7 separate regions of the Homo sapiens genome follow, and all the other regions are linked to region 4. The links are contacts of gene promoters, found by promoter capture Hi-C in blood cells and fetal thymus (Javierre and others, 2016). All regions are on one chromosome and are shown on one strand. Each heading gives the region's core, a stretch centred on a gene start or on the middle of the fragment in contact. The rest is flanking DNA. Distances are from core to core; before and after follow the strand shown. Region 1 overlaps ZNF112 (zinc finger protein 112). Region 2 overlaps ZNF235 (zinc finger protein 235). Region 3 overlaps ZNF155 (zinc finger protein 155). Region 4 holds the start of ZNF234 (zinc finger protein 234). Region 5 overlaps ZNF221 (zinc finger protein 221). Region 6 overlaps ZNF112 (zinc finger protein 112). Region 7 has its middle 7.0 kb from the start of ZNF155.

Evidence for each region. The method cuts DNA at HindIII sites, captures the fragments that hold promoters and counts their contacts. A CHiCAGO score of 5 or more calls a contact.
Region 1: a contact is called between a fragment that was not itself captured here and the fragment with the promoter of ZNF234 in region 4, in 1 of 17 cell types (naive B cells). The highest score is 5.9, in naive B cells.
Region 2: a contact is called between a fragment that was not itself captured here and the fragment with the promoter of ZNF234 in region 4, in 11 of 17 cell types (naive CD8 T cells, M1 macrophages, activated CD4 T cells and 8 more). The highest score is 9.0, in naive CD8 T cells.
Region 3: a contact is called between a fragment that was not itself captured here and the fragment with the promoter of ZNF234 in region 4, in 1 of 17 cell types (activated CD4 T cells). The highest score is 5.6, in activated CD4 T cells.
Region 5: a fragment that was not itself captured here is called in contact with the fragment with the promoter of ZNF234 in region 4 in 11 of 17 cell types (M2 macrophages, neutrophils, total CD8 T cells and 8 more); the score reaches 11.1 in M2 macrophages.
Region 6: a fragment that was not itself captured here is called in contact with the fragment with the promoter of ZNF234 in region 4 in 1 of 17 cell types (naive CD8 T cells); the score reaches 5.5 in naive CD8 T cells.
Region 7: a contact is called between a fragment that was not itself captured here and the fragment with the promoter of ZNF234 in region 4, in 14 of 17 cell types (activated CD4 T cells, non-activated CD4 T cells, total CD4 T cells and 11 more). The highest score is 8.3, in activated CD4 T cells.

Annotation. Positions count from the first base shown.
Region 1 is chr19:44,333,073-44,335,772 of GRCh38, forward strand. All of the region lies in intron 3 of ZNF112 (zinc finger protein 112), which reads right to left. Among named protein-coding and RNA genes, the nearest start is that of ZNF112, 22 kb to the right of the region's middle. The HindIII fragment of the contact is 4,114 bases long and covers 1-2,700 here.
Region 2 is chr19:44,286,655-44,289,354 of GRCh38, forward strand. It overlaps ZNF235 (zinc finger protein 235), which reads right to left. Exons shown (of 5, transcript NM_004234.4): 5 at 1-2,542. The coding sequence ends at 564. Among named protein-coding and RNA genes, the nearest start is that of ZNF235, 17 kb to the right of the region's middle. The HindIII fragment of the contact is 1,866 bases long and covers 462-2,327 here.
Region 3 is chr19:43,993,144-43,995,896 of GRCh38, forward strand. The region is part of intron 4 of ZNF155 (zinc finger protein 155); the gene reads left to right. Among named protein-coding and RNA genes, the nearest start is that of ZNF230-DT, 8.4 kb to the right of the region's middle. The HindIII fragment of the contact is 4,894 bases long and covers 1-2,753 here.
Region 4 is chr19:44,140,176-44,142,888 of GRCh38, forward strand. It overlaps ZNF234 (zinc finger protein 234), which reads left to right and starts at 1,379. Exons shown (of 6, transcript NM_006630.3): 1 at 1,379-1,558; 2 at 2,139-2,192. RefSeq lists enhancers at 1,407-1,806, 1,561-2,151, 1,817-1,866. The HindIII fragment of the contact is 9,485 bases long and covers 1-2,713 here.
Region 5 is chr19:43,953,838-43,956,537 of GRCh38, forward strand. All of the region lies in intron 1 of ZNF221 (zinc finger protein 221), which reads left to right. Among named protein-coding and RNA genes, the nearest start is that of ZNF221, 4.0 kb to the left of the region's middle. The HindIII fragment of the contact is 3,666 bases long and covers 1-2,700 here.
Region 6 is chr19:44,353,872-44,356,571 of GRCh38, forward strand. All of the region lies in intron 1 of ZNF112 (zinc finger protein 112), which reads right to left. Among named protein-coding and RNA genes, the nearest start is that of ZNF112, 1.5 kb to the right of the region's middle. RefSeq lists an enhancer at 2,618-2,700. The HindIII fragment of the contact is 552 bases long and covers 1,038-1,589 here.
Region 7 is chr19:43,975,847-43,978,546 of GRCh38, forward strand. It overlaps a transcript of ZNF221 not described here. Among named protein-coding and RNA genes, the nearest start is that of ZNF155, 7.0 kb to the right of the region's middle. The HindIII fragment of the contact is 1,108 bases long and covers 814-1,921 here.

The sequences.
Region 1 (2,700 bases), core at 160-2,659, 190 kb after region 4:
GAAGGTTGAGAATTTATTACATCTTCATAGCAATCCTGCTTTAGCACTTAGAGGTTGAGAAAGTCAATGATTCAAGCAACCCAAATTGATCAATTCAATAACAAAGGTGCTATATTTGTCATAAAGACAAGTAATTCCTTTGAATTTAATAGTTAGCTATAATGAACTCAGAGAAAAAAAATCTTTGTTTATGTCTTCTTCTTCTTCTTCTTTAATAAAAGCTAAGCGAGAACATCAGCTCAGGTTACCCAGGCTGAGATCACCTTCCGTTCTTACTTCGCTTTTAGATAGAGACAATACAAGGTATAGTGGTGACAATGTTTTGATCACAAATATTTAAGCTGCTGTGCTGACTCCTTTCTTAACCACTGATATGGTTTCGCTCTGCGTCCCCACCCAAATCTCATGTTGAATTGTAATTCCCAGTGTTGGAGTTGAGGCCTGGTGGGAGGTGATTGGATCATGGGGGTGCTTTCTAATGGTTTAGCACCATCCCCCAAGTGCTGTCTCGTGACAGAGTTCTCAAGAGATCTGGTTGTTTGAAAGCATGTAGCACTTCCTGCCCTCTTTCTCTTCCTCTTTCTCTGCCATGTAAAACATGCCTCCTTCCCCTTCACCATCTGCCATATTTATAAGTTTCCTGAGGCCTCCCCAGCCATGCTTCCTGTATAGCCTATGGAACCATGAGTCAATTAAACCTCTTTTCTTTATAAATTACCTGGTCTCAGGTAGTTCTTTACAGCAATGGGAGAATGGACGAATAAAGAAAATTGGTACCAGAAAAGTGGGGCATTGCTATAAAGATACCTGAAAACGTGGAAGTCACTTTGGAAACAGGTAATGGGCAGAGGTTGTAATAATTTGGAGGGTTCAGAAGAAGACAGGAAGATGAGGGAAAGTTTGGAATCTCCTAGAGAATTGTTACATGGTTTTGAACAAAATACGGATAGTGATATGGACAGTGAAGTCCAGGCTGAGGTGGTCTCAGATGGAGATGAGGAAGTTATTGGGGACTGGAACTGGTGATATATTTAGATATATTTAGGTTTGTAAATGCATTTATACATTTTCCCAACATTGGTGCTATGCTTTAGCAAAGAGACTGGCAGCATTATGCCTCTGCTCCAAAGATCTGTGGAACTTTGAACTTGATAGGGATGATTTAGGTTATCTGGTGGAATAAATTTCTAAGCAGCAAAGCATTCAAGATGTGGTCTGGCTGCTTCTAACAGCATATGCTCATATTTATGGGCAAAGAGATTATCTGAAACTGGAACTTATATTTAAAAAAGAAGCAGAGCATAAAAATTTGAAAAATTTGCAGCCTGATCATGTGGTAGAAAAGAAAAACCAATTTTCTGGGGAGAAATTCAAGGCTGCAGAAATGTGCCTAAGTAAAGAGGAGCTGAATGTTAATAGCCAAGAAAATGGGGAAAATGCCTCCAGGGCATTTCAGAGCCAGTCATGACAGTCCCTCCTACCACAGGCCTGAAGGCCTAGGAGGGAAAAATAGTTCTGTGGCTCAGGCCCAGGGCCCTGCTGTTTTCTACAGCTGAAGGACACGGCACCCTGCATTGTAGCTGCTCCAGTTCCAGCCATGGCTAAAAGGGGCCAAGGTATAGCTCAGGCCATTGCTTCAGAGGGTGCAAACCCCAAGCCTTGGCAGCTTCCACGTACTGTTGGGCCTGTGGTGTGCAGAGGGCAAGAGCTGAGGCTTGGGAACCTCTGCCCAGATTTCAGAGGATTTATAGAAACACCTGGATGTCCAGGCAGAAGTCTGCTGCAGGGGTGGAGCCCTCATGGAGAACCTCTACTAGGTCAATGGAGAAGGGAAATGTGGGGTTGGAGCCCCCAGAGTCCCCACTGAGGCATTGCCTAGTGGAGCTGTGAGAAGAGGGCCACCGTCCTCCAGACCCCAGACCCACCAACAGCTTCCACCACGTGCCTGGAAAAGATGCAGGCACTCAACGCCAGCTCATGAAAATAGCCAAGTGGGCTATACCCTGCAGAGCCACAGAGGCAGAGATGCCCAAGGCCTTGGGAGCTCATCCCTTGCATCAGCATGCCTGGATGTGAGACATGGAGTCAAAGGAGATTATTTTCGAACTCTGAGATTTAATGACTGCCCTGCTGGGTTTCAGATTGGCATGGGGCCTGCAGCCCCTTTGTTTTGCCTGATTTCTCCCTTTCAGAATGGGGGCATTTACCCAAAGGCTGTAGCCCCATTGTATCTTGGAAGTAACTAGTTTGTTTATTAGAGTATTATGCATCCATTACAAAAACAAGAGTTATAATCTTAGACTGGGAGGGATTTCCCCAAGGTAACGGCAAAGAAGAAAAATTAGTATATTAAAAACAAGAATGTACATAACAAATTTTTACATTAATATGAGGTATATGATCATGTTAGTATAGGTAAAAAAATTAAGGTATTTTAAAAGGTGACATTATGTTCCAGCTGACAGTATCAGGAAGGTAGACTGGCACAGCATGGCCTCGGCCTGTTTCTGTACAACCCAGGAGCCAAGAACGCTTTCTACATTTTTAAAGTGGTGTAAGAAAAACAAAGACTGTGACAAAGAGCACATGTGGCCAGGAAAATCTAAAGTATTTACTACTTGGACCTTTAGAGAAAAAGTTTAACTCCTACTCTCAAGGGTACCATGTAGGACCCTGAATCTTAACCAAGATGGAAACAAA
Region 2 (2,700 bases), core at 145-2,644, 150 kb after region 4:
AGGCTACTTGCAGGATTCCTTTTGAATATAAATTAATATAAATTTAGAGTAGAAAACAGACTAGAATTTTCAAGTATTTGTCCTAATTATAGGTATTTTCTTCACTTTCTTCAGTAATTGCTGGGCCCTATTATGAGCCAAGCACAATTCTACATGGTAGAGATAGAGTGGTGAAAAACACCTCCTTACATAGAGGTTACATTTTAGTTGACATCCATTTTTTCTGTCAATCATACTTTTGTTAAAGGAAGGCCTCTCTCCTGTGCAGACTCCGACAAGACTTTTCTGCTGTGTTACATCTTGAGAACCGGGACACCTGGTACTCTGATATAAACACTGATCATATTTACAGAACAAAGTTTTCTCGCATCTGTGAAATATGACGTTTGTAAAGAATTCATGTCCTAACCAAGTCTAAAACACAGCATTTGAGAGACTTCTTTCCTGTCAAGATTCTTTGAAGCTTCTAGTTTTAAAGGAACTTTTCACAATCATCAGCATGGACTTCCCAACGGAGACAAAGATGTGAGCTCTAACTGAAGGCTGAACCACACCTCTCATTTCTACAGATTCCCTCCAGTGTGGACTCTCTGATGGTAGATGAGATGTGACCTCTGACTGAAGCCCTTACAACAGACATCACATATGTAAGGCCTCTCTCCAGTGTGGACTCTCTGGTGTGTGTGAAAATGTGAGGCCTGACTGAAGCCCTTCCCACACTGCTGACACGTATAGGGTTTCTCTCCTGTGTGGACCCTCTGATGGGCACTGAGACCAGCACTCCAACTGAATTCTTTCCCACATTCCTCACATTTAAATGGTTTCTCTCCAGTGTGAATTATCTGATGGACTTGAAGATTTGACCTCTGGCTGAAGGCCTTACCACAAGTGTCACATTTATATGGTTTCTCTCCGGTGTGGACTCTCTGATGGGCTTGAAGGTGTGAGGCCTGACTGAATCGCTTCTGACATGCATCACACTTGAATGGTTTTTCCCCAGTGTGGACGCTCTGATGGGCTTGAAGATTTGAAGCCTGACTGAAACCCTTACCACACTCTTCACATTTGTAGGGTTTCTCTCCGGTGTGGACTCTCTGATGATTGTGAAGATTCAAGCTCCAATTGAAGCGCTTCCCACACACTTCACATTTGTATGGTTTTTCTCCAGTGTGGACTCTCTGATGTGCTTGAAAGTATGAACTCTGACTGAAGCCTTTCCCACACACGTTGCATCGAAATGGTTTCTCTCCTGTATGGACCCTCTGATGGCTCTGGAAACTTGAGGCTGAACTAAAACCCTTACCACACTCTTCACATTTATATGGTTTTTCTCCTGTGTGGACTCGTTGATGACTATGAAGATTAAAGCTCAAACTAAAGCACTTACCACACTCATCACATTTGTATGGTTTTTCTTCAGTGTGGACTCTCTGATGGGTATGAAGATTTGAGCTACAACTAAAGCGTTTACCACAATCCCCACATTTATATGGTTTCTCTCCAGTGTGAATTCTTTCATGGGCCTGAAGATGTGATCTCTGAGTGAAGCCCTTCCCACACACCTCACATTTATAAGGTTTCTCTCCAGTGTGAACTCTGCAATGAATGTTAAGATCTGTGCTACGACTGAAGCCCTTCCCACAACTGTCACATCTATAGGGCTTCTCTCCTGTGTGAATAGGCAAATGAGCATAAAGATGTGAGCTCTGATTAAAGCTCTTACCACACTCGTGGCATGTATAGGGTTTCTCCCCTGTGTGGACTCTCTGATGAGTTTGCAGATTTGAGCTCTGACTGAAACCTTTACCACATTCATGACACCAATAGCGTTTTTTCCCAGTACGAACACTTTGTTGAACAGGAATACCTGAGCTATAACTGGTGTCCTTCTCATGTGTACTACACGCTGGAGACTTCTTTCCCAAGTGTACCTGTTTATGAAGTTCAAGACTGGAGCTATCATTGAAGGCTTCTTCACATTCATTACCCTGGTAGGTTTTCTGTCCTGTGTGAATACTACGCTGGGTAAGAGGTGATACCTTTAGGGTATCTTTACCACAATCACTATTGCTATGAACTTTATCTCTTTTGTGCACTATATTATCATCATGGTGGTGTGAAATACAACTGAAAATGTCAACATATGGAGCAAATATACATAGTTTGTTTTTCATCTGAGTCTGCTTACAACTTCTCTGATAATTCTGTGTCTCATTCAGATATATTTTACTCCAAGAATTCGGAACTTTCCCAGTTGGAAATTCTTGATTTTCAATGATACTGGAATGATCCCCTATGTGATTCACTAGACAGTTGTCATCCACAGAAGCTTGAATAGATTCTCCTGCTCCCACTTGACAGGGGGAATCATGGTGCTTGGGGAACTGAGAGCTCTTTCCTTCAATATTTATCATGGAGTCTTGACTTCTGGCTAATTTGCTCGCAATGTGTCTCTTGATTTGCCAGCATGAAAGCTCTCCCAGTGAAAAGCACCTTAATCCTGCTTTGTGAAGAGTTGCCATCTCATTTTGATTCCTGTCTCCTGAAAGGATAGAGAGAATAAGGAATAAAGGACCAAGAGACTGACATTAGCAAAGTAGAGAATTAAGATCTAAGCTCTCATTTTCCCCATGGAAACGTCAAAAAAACAACTAGACTGGCTGAAATAAATTTATAGGAACTCTGAAAAGCAGCTGCAAC
Region 3 (2,753 bases), core at 212-2,711, 150 kb before region 4:
GATGAGGGGACACAAGTCATGTAGCTGAACATTTACTCTATTTCTGGTCCTCTTTCTTCATAAATGTGTCTATTTCTGCATCTTTATGTCATACAAGTTTTGTTTTCAAAAACATTAAAGGATATAGATTTTACACAATTTTTTCTTGATTTTTATAGATTTAGTGCTGTATTTTGAACTGGTGAACTTTATGACCTGTTAGGAATTGGGAAACTGCCCTCTAAAACTAGAAACATCCTGAAGATTCTCCTTTCTCCTTAAAGATTTCTTATTAATTTAATTTATTTTTGAGATGCAGTTTCGCTCGTCACCCAGCCTGGAGTGCAATGGTGCAATCTCGGCTCACAGCGACCTCCGCCTCCCAGGTTCAAGTGATTCTCCTGCCTCACCCTCATAAGTAGCTGGAATTACAGGTGCCCACCACCACACCCAGCTAATTTTTGTATTTTTAGTAGAGATGGGGTTTCACCACATTGGCCAGGCTGGTCTCGAACTCCTGACCTCAGGTGATCCACCCGCCTCGGCCTCCCAAAGTGCTGGGATTACAAATGTGAGCCACCATGCCCAGCCAAGACCTCTTATTTATAAGTGACAGTGTATTAAATATATCTACGTACCACTGTATACCAATAGGTACACACTTACCTATAAATCCTTTCCAAGATTCAACCTCTGCAACTTAACTTTCCATTGGAAGAATTTACTTAATTCAGGACTTGGTATTATCCTGACAAAGTTTTGAATGTTTTGCAAGCATGAGCCATAGTAAGAAGCACATATTTCAATATAACCCGGACAAACATTTTTCATGCCTGTAGATGTGTATGAGTGACTCTAGGAGGCATTTCATGGAATGACCACTTTCCTGCTTGTCATGATGCTGTGATAATTTACATTCCAGTTCTTTTTTGTAAATGTTTATTGCAGAGTTTAACTGTATTTCATAGCTCACTAATGTGTAGTCTTCAATATAAAAAGTTATAAAGTCCTATTTATCTGCATCATAGGCTTTCTTTTCATTTCATGTGATTCTTCACATTTTTGATTGTCTGCTCAGGAGCATCCCCCTTTGTGGACCCCTGGAAGGACAGCCTTTCAGATTCCCCTCAAAACTGTAGTTGTGTGTCTCTGTACTCCTTCAGATAACCAAGTTACTCTCCACATCAATACAGAAAAGTAAGATGAAGTATTTTACATATGCTGTGCAAAATTCTTGTGCAGGGATACTTTGAATGTGTACATAGAAACACTATGAAGTGTTTGATGTTTAATGTTGTGCAGAGTTCAACCAACTACAAAATTTACTGAGACATTTTACAGAGAACTGCTCTCACTTCACACCAAGTGCAAATTCAGGAGGTTTTCAAAACTGCCTTTGCATTCAATAATTTTCTAAACTCTCAGAACTCACTGAATACTTTTATTCTCACTGACTGATTTTTACAGGGAAAACATGTATATTATACTTAGAGAAAAACCAAATAAAACAGGGTCCAGATGAGAATAACCAAATGCGGACCTTCTATTGTATTCTCCTGGCAGAGTAGGATGTGTTACATTCCCAGGATTAAGGTATGACTTAGACTCAAAGTACTGTCAGTCACAGAAACTCACCTAAGTGCTGGGATCCAGAGTAATTATTGGGTCTCCATTATGGAGCCAGTATTGATTGATGATTCCTAGGTGGTTAATCAGTCTCCTAGTCCACTAACTCTCTGTGACCTAAAGCTCCACCTTAAATCACATTGCTTATTTCTGACATGGAGAGGAGCATCTCCCACTCCCAATCCCCCAAAGGATTTGCCAGTTGCAACCATAAATTATATTGTTTCACTATGCAGAGTGATCCAGTGATTGCCTTCAAGCCAACCAAGACACTCTCCTGAGGTATGACACTTCAGGATCCTAGAGATTACCTCTCAGATGCTGAGGACAAAGTCCCAACCTCTTTTTGGTTAGGTTAACTTTTTTTTTTTTTTTGAGGCAGAGTCTCGCTCTATCTCCCAGGTTGGAGTGCAGTGGCACGATCTCAATCTCAGCTCACTGCAACCTCTGCCTTCCAGGTTTAAGCAATTCTCCTGCCTCAGCCTCCTGAGTAGCTGGGACTACAGGCATGTGCCACCACACGTGGCTAATTTTTGTATTTTTAGCAGAGACGGGGTTTCAAGGCCAGGCTGGTCTTGAACTCCTGACCTCAAGTGATCTGCCCACTTCAGCCTCCCAAAATGCTGGGATTACAGGTGTGAGCCACTGCATCCAGCACTTTTTTTTTTTTTTTTTTTTGAGACAGGGTCTCGCTCTGTCACCCAGGGCTCACTGCAACTTCCACCTCCCAGGCTCAAGCAATTCTTCCACCTCAGCTTCCCAAGTAGCTGGGACTACAGAGTGCACGACCACACCTGGCTAATTTATGTATTTTTAGTAGGGACAGGGTTTTGCTATATTGCCCAGGCTGGTCTCGAACTGCTGGACTCCAGTGATCAATCCCAAAGTGCTGGGATTAAAGGCTTGAGCCACCGCACCTGGCCTAGTTTAACTTCTTTATAAGGATATACAGCATAAACACAAATATACAAAGTGTTGATTAAGTTATTGCTTTTCCTTAAAGTTCCTTTTGATTCATATTTCATTATGTACATAAATTTTTATTTTCATAATTTATCATGCAAGATTTTGGACTGACTAGGAAATTCATTACAAATAGTAACAAGTTAAATGTATATCATATTTTTAAATTAAGTCTATTATTTCTA
Region 4 (2,713 bases), core at 129-2,628:
CAACACTGGGGATTACATTTCAACATGAGATTTGGGTGGGGACACAGATCTAAACCATATCAATAGGCCAATGTATGTTTATGGGGAGAAAAAAATCTGGTTATCTTTTTTTTTTTTTTTTTTTCCGTGACAGAGTCTTGCTCTGTCGCCCAGGCTGGAGTGCAGTGGCATGATCTCGGCTCACTGCAACCTCTGCCTCTCAGGTTCAAGCGATTCTCCTACCTCAGTCTCCCGAGTAGCTGGAATTACAGGCACGCACCACCATGCCCGGCTAATTTTTGTATTCTTAGTAGATATGGGTTTTCACCATGTTCTCCTGGCTGGTCTCGAACTCTTGACCTCATGGTCCGCCCGCCTTGGCCTTCCCAAAGTGCTGGGATTACAGGCGTGAGCCACCGCACCCAGCCCCTGGTTATCTTGAAGAAAGATTTTAGATGGGTTTTTTTCTGATTTTGCTTTATTCTATTATTTATTTGTATCAACCAATGTAAGCCAGATTCCAAATTGCTAACTATAATGACGATATTTTAACCAAAAAATATAAAGGAAGAAAATAAAATATGTTCCTTCACGTATAGGATCCTCCTTAATGCTACTGCATTAAATAAATCATAGGCATTGGGTGTCTGACATCAATGCCAAGCGCTTCACCAGTTATACTTGCTTTGAAGTATTGGGCAATTTAAGAGCTTCTCTGAAATTTGGTGTTTTTACCTCTTCAGTAGACATAATACCATGAAAAGTGTAAACGAAAGAAGATAGCTTTTCCATGAGGACAGGGCTTCCCCACTGGCCCTCTCAAATGATGATTGTTTTTCCTGCCAAACCAGTGGTACCACAGCGTCTGGAGTAGGGGCTGGCACCTTCTTTGTTCTTCATTGCCTCTCCCAAACCATTGTACTTGCTCACTCTTCCAACTTTTAGTTTTGGCCTCATATTATCAGTTTATAGTAATCAATCATCAATCATCTACTGACCCCTAAAAAGTCATTCCCCATTTAGTCCTTGAAGATTGTATCTCCTCGCTTGTTCTCTTTCCAATAATCCTCCGTAGTCCTGGGAGGCGTTTAGACTTCAGGAATTGCTGTCTATTCAATATTTTCGCTCAAGGACTCAGGCAGAGGGAAGGACGACTCTCAGGGTCACAGTCCACATTCCCTACCAAGCGCTCAGCGATATAGGATTCGTTCCCCATGGGCAGTGCGGGAATCGTAGGCAAGGAGCACCGCGGAGTCCCATCGCTTTTCCCTGAAGGGTGAGATTCTGAACGTTTTTCCCTCAGCATTCTGAGTGTAATCCAAACGCTCAGTGGAGTCGTGGTCCATTTGACCCACGCAGGGGGATCCGGGGAATTCTGGGAAATGTAGTCCCGCCAATCAGTGGAGTCGCGGGCACTTCCGCTCCAGGGAAGAGGGGGCGATTGTCACGGCACATTCCACGGTAGTTTCTTCCAGTTCCGCGACTCGCGGGCCCCTCCTAATGTCAGGGACTTAAGATTGGGGCTCGCTGGGACCTGGTGGTCCGGTTATGGGAAAAGAAGCCTCGTGGGAGAGCAGAGGTTTGGTGGGGCGAGGGCGGCGGCTTTTGTTGTGTCAGCGGAGCCTTCTTGGGCTGGGGCTCCCCTCGTGTCCCGCGGCGGGAGGCGGGGGGCATTGGGACTTGGTTGGGTCGCGTCTCGCCTGGTTTGAGGGTTTCCGGGGCTCTGAGCTCGCCCACTCCGCCTCCCTGCACTCCAGGCGCGCAGTCACTTTTTTACAGTGCAAGGTTGGCGTGTTAATCTCCCTGGGCCTCTCCTTGCTGTTCTTTAAAATGGGGACGTTAGGACCATCTTTGTAGAATCGTTTTGGTAACTGGAATAGGTTACACAACACAAACAGTCCCTGTCACTTGGTGAGTGGTGGTTTCTTGTTACTTTCCCACGAAACCTGTTAGGTCCCCCGGTGGGGTCAGAGCTCCAGCAGCAGGGGCCTCAGCCCTTATCTCTGATCCCTGCAGGACGCTGGACGATCCCGGACGCCTTCTGACCTCTTTTTAGGCAGGCGAGGGTTGCGTCCACTTCCACGAAGGGAGGGGAGCATTTAACTTTTCTCAGGGACAGCGACCCAGTCAGGATGTTTCACAGCTTTCTCCTTCCCCAGCCTGAAAAAGGACTGCGCGGACTGACTTCTTGGCTACTGAAAGCAAAGCTCCACGTGAGTGTGACTTGTCATTTTTCTTTTACAGAGACTGTATCTTTGTAGCATGTGTAATAGGGCATGGGCATTTATAATAATTAAGCCTTAATTGCTAACTTCAATTCTAGGGGATTTATACAATTAGATACGTTTAAGCCGCAACGTGACTCTGTGGAGAGGTACTGGTCATCCAAGTAGTAAGAGGTGAAACTTGGGTTGGAACCTAGGCATTCAGGGTCAGAGCCCGAGTTGATCATCTCTTGGATATATTCTCATTGAGGCAGAGGAACTAGCTGTACTCAGGTGGGGAAAGTAAGTTAGAACTTGATTAAAGGACCTTAAGAGCAAGGCTAATTGCCTTGGAGTTTTCTCAGTTTTTAAAAACTGTCAACTATTTTGTTTCATTTATTACAAATATTTCACATTCTAATAGAACCGTATCACTGTGAAGCATTCAGAAATTACAGAAATACGAAGATACAAAAATTGTAATTACCTATGAAATCAGGATGTAAAGATAGTAATGGTTAAATTTCTAA
Region 5 (2,700 bases), core at 1-2,500, 190 kb before region 4:
TTTGGGAGGCTGAGGTGGGTGGATCACCTGAGGTCAGGAGTTCGAGACCAGCCTGGCTAACATGGGGAAACCCCATCTCTACAAAAAATAGAAAATTAGCCAGGTATGGTGGCACATGCCTGTAGTCCCAGCTACTCGGGAGGCTGAGACAGGAGAAACACCTGAACCTGGGAGGCAAAGGCTGCAGTGAGCAAAGATTGCCCCACTGTACTCCAGCCTGGGCGAGACAGAGTGAGACTCCGTCTCAAAAAAAAAAAAAAAAAAAAAAGGATATGCAACTCAAAAGATACCACCACATTATCAGAATCCCATTTAGTCACATTAATAAGTCCAGTCCAGTGGGTGAAGCCACTCAGGTTTGCTGGCTTCCATTTGATATACGGTTCTAAAAGTAGGAGTGGTCTTAGCAAAACATATAGCTTCACCATTTCAGGCATCTGGTGTAATTGAGCTAAGAGACAGTGTCATCTTAAGGTATTAATATACTACTGGAGTTCTCTCAATTCATAACTCATTTATTCATTCCTTTACCCTCAGCTACCGTTTCTCCTTCTTTCCATTAATACACAGACTTTTTCACCTTTGGAAGGGACATTAGAATCACCACTGTGCCGGTCTAGACTGCAGACAGCAATACTAGTCTAGCAAATGCTTCCCCCTCAGTTCACCTCCATTCAGATAGGGTAAGGTTACTTAGGTGCAGAATAGTGGACTGTTTTTACCATCAGGAAATACAGTTATATTCACTGTTAGCCCAATTTTGCCAGATGGGGTGAAGGCACAACCCATCCCCATCGGGCCCTCAGGAATTCTGACACAAGTTTTAGAAATTTAGTTATGGTTTCTTGCTTAGGAATCATCCCTGCTTCCAACACTTGTAGTTGTAGCCCTGATCCTGTGACCACTACATCAGGTATGGGGAAAAAAATTGAGGTAATATGGGGAAGAAGGAAAAAAAAAAGTGTAATCATTATACTGGTGTTCTCCTCCCTTGGCAAGAATTGCATAGTCATCCCAGCCTCCTTTCCCACCAGGTCTTCCCCAGATCAACCAGAAAAATAGAGAAATTGCTATCCCACTGACATTGGGTATGAGCACACACTTGCGAAGGTGTGTAAGCCAGCCCTGATGCTTTTATCTCTTTGTTTTAGACAATCAATGTTTTAATTGCCTGTTCCACTTCCCTATCAAACTATTACTCTGAGGAGGATCGCTCTCTATTCATTGCTGGACATTGTGGGCTCTATATCTAGTGTGTTTCTTGGTCTTCTTTCTTCTTTTTTTTTAAAAACACTCTGAACATTTGGATCTTCCACCATATAAGCAAAACCCGGTCAAGAATCAGTGTCTACTGCTGTCAAGACCCATCTGTAGCCTCCCAGGGCTACCAGCATCACTTGCCAGCTACACTCAGGTCCTTCCCACCAGGGAATCTGTTTCACAGCCATCTTCACTGTGTCATTTTTGCTGACAAACAGAACAGTTTTCATCTGCATTTTGTGCCTCAGAGGGTGCAAGAACATGTCTCGATTTAGCCCATCTTTGCACTGCTGCACTACTCCCATATCCACTAATTTCACGGACCCAGGCAGCCACTGCAAGGGAGCACATGGGGATATCTGCTTGTTGATTCAAAACCTGAAGGGGGCTCTGCCAATGAGCATCAACAGGTCCTACTTTAATGCACACCCCCTACTTCAAATTTCTGTAAGTTCATGCCTCACATGGGCATCCCCTTTAATAGACCAGATCTCCACTGCTCTTCTGCCTGAGTGTATGGCCAGGCCATTTGCCACTGCCCATGAGTCAGTAAAGATCCCAAAGTGGGTTTCTACCACCATTCAGTTTTTCATCACTGCTAGGAAAACAGCGTGTAATTCAGTGCATTGAGCTGATATGTTTTTACCTTCTTTGATCAGGGTGGCATCCTTCCAAATCATATGTTCATTCACTTTGGAACTGCCATTCACAAAATGAGCAGCTCTTTGCTGGTCAGTTGAGAGTTGTTTATAGCTTCTCACACAGTTCCAGAGTCAGTCTCCAGGTAGCATGACTCTGTATAAACTATTTCCATTTTATTATGGAACTCTTCTGGGCACTGCCATCCCCATTAGAATGTTTTCCTAACATTACCTAAGAGAGCATAGGTATTTCAGGTGTCAAGATTTTTAATGTCTTTCAGTCATAGGGCTAGCCTCAGTTAATGCCCCATAGTGGGGTAGTAAATACTCTTCAAGTCAAAATTTTCTAGTCCAAAGTCTCAGTAATTGTCACTAGAAGGCACTCACAGGCTTCTGTCATAAGCCCCAGCCTACATTCCACATGGAGCTATCAAAACAGAATTTGTCCATACCAGCACTTCAGATTCTATTCTACACTGTGCGGACTCAGGCAATCTTACTGGTTCCCATTTAGCATGTCCAACTAATATTGCTTGAAGGGTAGATTTATATGCCTTCTGTTTTGTAATGCTAGTCAGGAGAAACGTTCCCTAGTCAGATACAATGTCCATTCCCATAAAACATTTAGGTAAAGAAGATACAACTTCTTAATATAAAGTCTGTTTAAATAGTCCAACTTTCATAATCCTATCAACCCTTACATTTTTATGTTCTAGTCCCAGGAAGTTTTCCACCACTTGCCCACCCCAACACTCCCCCCAGCCATTTTATCCTCTCTTATGCGAAACACTGAGAGTCA
Region 6 (2,700 bases), core at 64-2,563, 210 kb after region 4:
TGGCTTCGTACCCTACAGAAATAAGCACAAAAAAAACTGTACATGAATGTTTATATCAGCTCTATTCATAAATGCCAAAAAGTGGAGGAAAAAGTCTATCAACCAGAGAATAGATAAACTGTGATACATCCATAAAGTGGACACTTCTGTTAACCAGAAGTAAACAGAAATGAAGTATTGATACGTATAACAACTTTGATGAATGTCAAGAGCAATTTGCTGAGTAAAAGAATCCGGTCTCAAATGTTAACATATAGCATCAGTTCATTTATACGACATTCTCAAAAAGACAAAACTATAGCGTTTTAGTGGTTATGGTAGTTGCCAGTGGTTACAGGTATGGTGAGGGGTAATTATGAGGGAAGACATGAGGGGAGTTTTTGGGGTGATGGAACTGTTCTTTTTCTGACTACGGTAGTCGTTATACAAACTATGCCTGTGTTGTAATAGAATTGTATACCAAAAATAACAAAATAGTCAATGTCACTGTAAAAACATTTTTTAAAAACCTGTTTTAAAAACCTGGAAACACAACCTCAGTTATAAGGCATGGTCTATAAATGTTGTTACCATTTCTAACAATTTGTTTCTTAGGAATTTTTTTAGATTATCAAAACATAACCAATCATTGCTCTTCAACTCTTCAATACTCTGAAATAGTTGGTGGATTATATAACCTACCAATATTAAGTGAGATTAAGGAATATATCCAGGGGTTATTTCTATTCTATTTTGATACCTAATTCCAATTCCACACTGCAAATCCTTGATGCCAGCTGTCTGTTGAGTAGCTACTCTAACCATAAACCCTTAACAACCTTGTACGATGTGCTGGGCACATGGAGAAAAGTATGACATGGTCCCAGAAATAGAAGAACTTTCAGTGTATGGATTTAGATAAAGAGAAATAAGAAACAAAGAGCTATAAGACTTAGGCAAGGCAAACTCTATACTGGAACACAAAATTCATCACCATCCTTCTCCAAGGTACAATTCTCTTGCATCCCCTAGCTTCCTCAAGTAAGGACCATTCTGTAAGCTTCAACGAATGAAAACCTTAGAGTAGCTGCTGGCATTTCCCTTTCAAAGTCTTGGATATAAGCAATTTATGATCATCAACGTTTGGCAATTATGACAATCAATCAAACGATATTATACTAAGTCGATGTTAGAGATTTGCTTTAAAATACTGAAACAAAAAAAAAAGGGACAGGGAGTTGATACAAGACTGGCAAATGTTAACAAAGGTTGAAGCTGGGTGACGCTTCCACAGAATTATTTTAGTCATATTACATTTGGCTATGCTTACAAATTTCCATAGTAAAAACTTAAGGGAAAAATAAAAGCTATGAAGCCTATTTGGTTAAACATGGGTGAAAATCCAAAAAGAAGTCTACTGGAAGAGGAAAACATTGAAATATTAATATTGTTACTGTTATATCTTGTGGTTAGCATAATTTTTTTCTTTTACACTTTCTATACTTTCTTAATCTTTTACAATATGCAATAATTTATATAATCAGAATATGAACTATAAATATTTCAAATAAAATTAAATTACAGATAATTTTAAAAAATCAAAAATTCAAAGCTTATTAACCTTGCTTTCACGGTCCTCTAGTAAAATCCAAATATGTGTTCTGAAGCTGATACTAAACACATCAAGAACTAAGGCAATGGATGGAAACTATTTGAATTCAAATCCCAGCTCAGGCTCTTACCACCTGGGTGACCTAAAGATAAACCACCTATGCTCTATGTCTGTTTGCTTATCTTTAAAATGGGAATGGTGGTACCCAACCCAGGCTCAAAGGGCTCTTGTGAGGATTAAAGATGTTAATTCATATCAAACTCTTAGAATGATCAGCACTAAATGTTTAAATACTATCTTTATTACTCATGCCCAAGTACTCCCTCATCCGTTTCTGCATTTATTGAACAAATATCAGCGCATCTTCGAGCAGAATTTGCCAGTGAATGATGGAAATATCGTCTTCCCTGAAAAGAAAGGATGATAAGTACTACTCAGGTGAGACTCCGCTGCCAAGTGCCAAAGGGTCATTCCCTCCTTCTCCCTGCAGCCTTTTTCAAGAAGTCAAGGCTAAAGAAGGAAAGGAGGATGGGGGAAATCAGAACTCCTGCATGAATTACAATGGACTACCCAGACAGCCAGGAGTGATCCTGTCCTAAAGAAAAATCTCTCAGTGATCAGAAAAGGGCCAGGGATACTCTGCAGCTGGAGCTCTGACCCCATCCTGGGTTCACAGAAGCTTTCAGGGAACTGAGTCCTTCTCAGAAAATTAAAAAGTGCTAATAACAAGAGACCCATCTTCTACCACCTGTCAGGCTCTGTTCCAAGTCTTTTTATTTAACTCTCAAAAGAACTCCATTAGATAGATACTAGTACCATTTTAAAGAAAAAGAAACATAGGCAGAGAGATTAAGATACTCGCCTGTTATTATACTGCTAGGAAGTGGCAGAGCTGGTTGATGGTCAGGGGAAAGGGCTGGGGAAGTACAGAACCCAGGAGATCCCCAGTCCCTGCGATGTAGGATCTTGGACCCCCGGCGCTAAGTGGGGATGCGCCAGCTGCCCCACACTGGAGAAGGCTCATTCAAAGATAACACAAATCCCGCCCTTCGCCGCAAGTGGATTATCCTCCCCTAGAGCTACTGCCCGGTTGCTACTGGACCCCAACA
Region 7 (2,700 bases), core at 118-2,617, 160 kb before region 4:
TTCTCCTCATCCTCTGTTCTCAAGTCGGATTCTTATTATTTGGGACTCTGTCTAGTGTTCCCTTGATTGTATATAGTATAAATTTAACAATCATTTGTCACTTTTCTCACAATATGAGGTGAAAAGATTTTGTAATAACAGACCACTGCATATTGTACAATTAAGTTTTTTCAACAATTTTAAGGCAGGATTCACAGTAAACACTTTTTTCTTTTAAAAAATTATTTTTAAGGAATAGAGACAGTCTCACCATGTTGCTTGGCTGGCCTTGAACTTCTAGGCTCAGGCAATCCTCCTACCTCAGCCTCCCAAAGTGCTTGAATTATAGGCATGAGCCACCACACCCAGCCCACAGTAACATTTCTAATGTGGCAGATGTAGTTACATTGACAAAAATTTTTCTGGTAAAGGCCAGGTGTGGTGGCTCACTCCTGTAATCCCAGCACTTTGGGAGGCTGAGGCAGGTGGATCACTTGAGGCCATGGGTTCGAGATCAGCCTGGTCAACATGGCAAAACCCCGTCTCTACTAAAAATACAAAAATTAGCTGGTGTGGTGGTGTGTGCCTGTAATCCCAGCTACCTGAGAGGCTGAGGCATGAGAATCGCTTGAGCCTGGGAGGCGGAGGTTGCAGTGAGCTGAGATTGTGCCACTGTACTCCAGCCTGGGCAACAGAGCGAGACTTCATCTAAAAAAAAATTCCTAATAAGTTTTGAATTGATCATGATTTGTGATTCTGCGTTTCTGTGCAGGCTTTAATATGATTGCCTTCTAATTGCTGTAGTTATTTCTTTTATCAGACTTCTCAGGTAGAAGCTTTGCCAAATTTGAAGGAAAATTTTTGGCAACCTCAGTATTTCTTCCCATCTCTATGAACTACCAAGAACATTTGTTGGAGTTTGGTGATTTCATCATACATATTCATTATTGGAGCAAGAGTAACCTTTACATACTCTTCTTTATTGTTGGCCATAAGAATACGTTTTTTGGAAAGTGGTATATGGCAGTATGTATAAGGTACAACTGTTCAACCTGGAAATCATAGGATAGAAAATTACAACATTAAAACTCTGAAAATTAGTAGATTACATGGATGATGTCACTTAATTTTAAAATGGAAAGAACAAGTGTTCAACCACAGGAATTTGTATGAAGTGCATTTATTAATATAAAAACACAAAGCCAGTAAAATGATGACATAGATGTACAATAAAAAGAGAAGAGCATAATGTATGCCTTAGGGAAATCCTATTGTAGCCTTCATAACAAACTAAGTGTCTTTGTGTTTCTGGGTTTGTTTATTTGGTTATTTTTAGTGTGTATGTACATCATTTGTGGATGAATATTCTGACATTTTCCCTGGCAATGAGTATTTGCTGGAATTTTTCATTTTATAATTTTATGCATTTTAAATTTCTCATTGAACACCAATTTTACCAAAGCAGTTATGTGATGAAAAATTTGAAAAATTATTAATATTAATCACTTACCTATAAGGACTCTGAATAAGATTGCTCTACATTGTCATATGACAGTTCAAAATTAAGGAATAGGGATGTGGAAGTCATATTTCAAAATAAAAAAATGTATCTGGTCACCTGGATATACAGATTGATGAGTGTGGTCAACTGCCTTCATAACTAATGTGTGTGATTCTGCTTTAGGCATAAGTCAGGAAGCAAGCAAATCCTAGTGACAGAAATAATGTGGGTATATATAGTTGTGGAGGTTAAAAAAACAGATTCTTTGAAGAACAAATGCGCATGATCAGGGAACTTAACATGACAGCAGCAGTCTCTTAGTGTGTGGAACCAGCTCGGACAAAGAGCTGATTTGGGTGCTAATTCATAGTTATACACCATGGTGTAACTTAACTGTATTAGGTTAAAAGGCATTCTTCAAAGTGTCTAGTTGAGATAGTAAGCTTTTCATAATTAATTTTCTAAATAATGTATTTTCATGATGCTATATTCATGCTGTGCCAGTTTGGATAGTAGATTGGAGGTCCCTAAGACCACCTCTGGGTTCTGTGATTTACTAAAATAACTGAGACTATAGTTGTACTTATAACAATATTACAGTGACAAGATACAAAACAGAATCTGTAAAGGGAAATGGCTCATGGGCAGTTGTCTAGAGGAAACCAGAAGCAAGCTTACCAGAGTCCTCTCTGCATGGTGTTACATAAGACTCAACTCCTCTAGCATTGAATTGTGATACTACTTGTGAAATGTCTACAATGGAAGCTCATTAGCAACCAGCAGCACAGGTTCTTATTGAGATTGATTATGTAGGTATGTGTCTAGTACATATCAAGATTCCCAACTCTAAGAAGAAGAGCAAGTGTTCCAAATAAGCTGCATTGTAGAGTTTAGGCGCAGTGACCACTCCTACCCATTATGGAAAGGTGGTAACTCTCTCAAACCCCATGTTCCTTGACTCCAGCCAAAGGCCAGTGTTGCAAACAGCTCTTTTTAAAGTTAGCAGTCTGACTTATGCCTGCTATGTTAACTTTTTGTGCATGTGGTATCAGAAAAGTAGGGCCTGCAGTCTTGTGGGGTTTTCTTAAACTATCACCAGATAATAGTTCATCTCTAAGATAATTATTTGTAAAAGAAAATTCATCAGATTACATTTTTAAATATTTTTATAATAAAAAATACCATAGGTAGGCCTTCCATCTACCCTCGTGTGTGTCTGG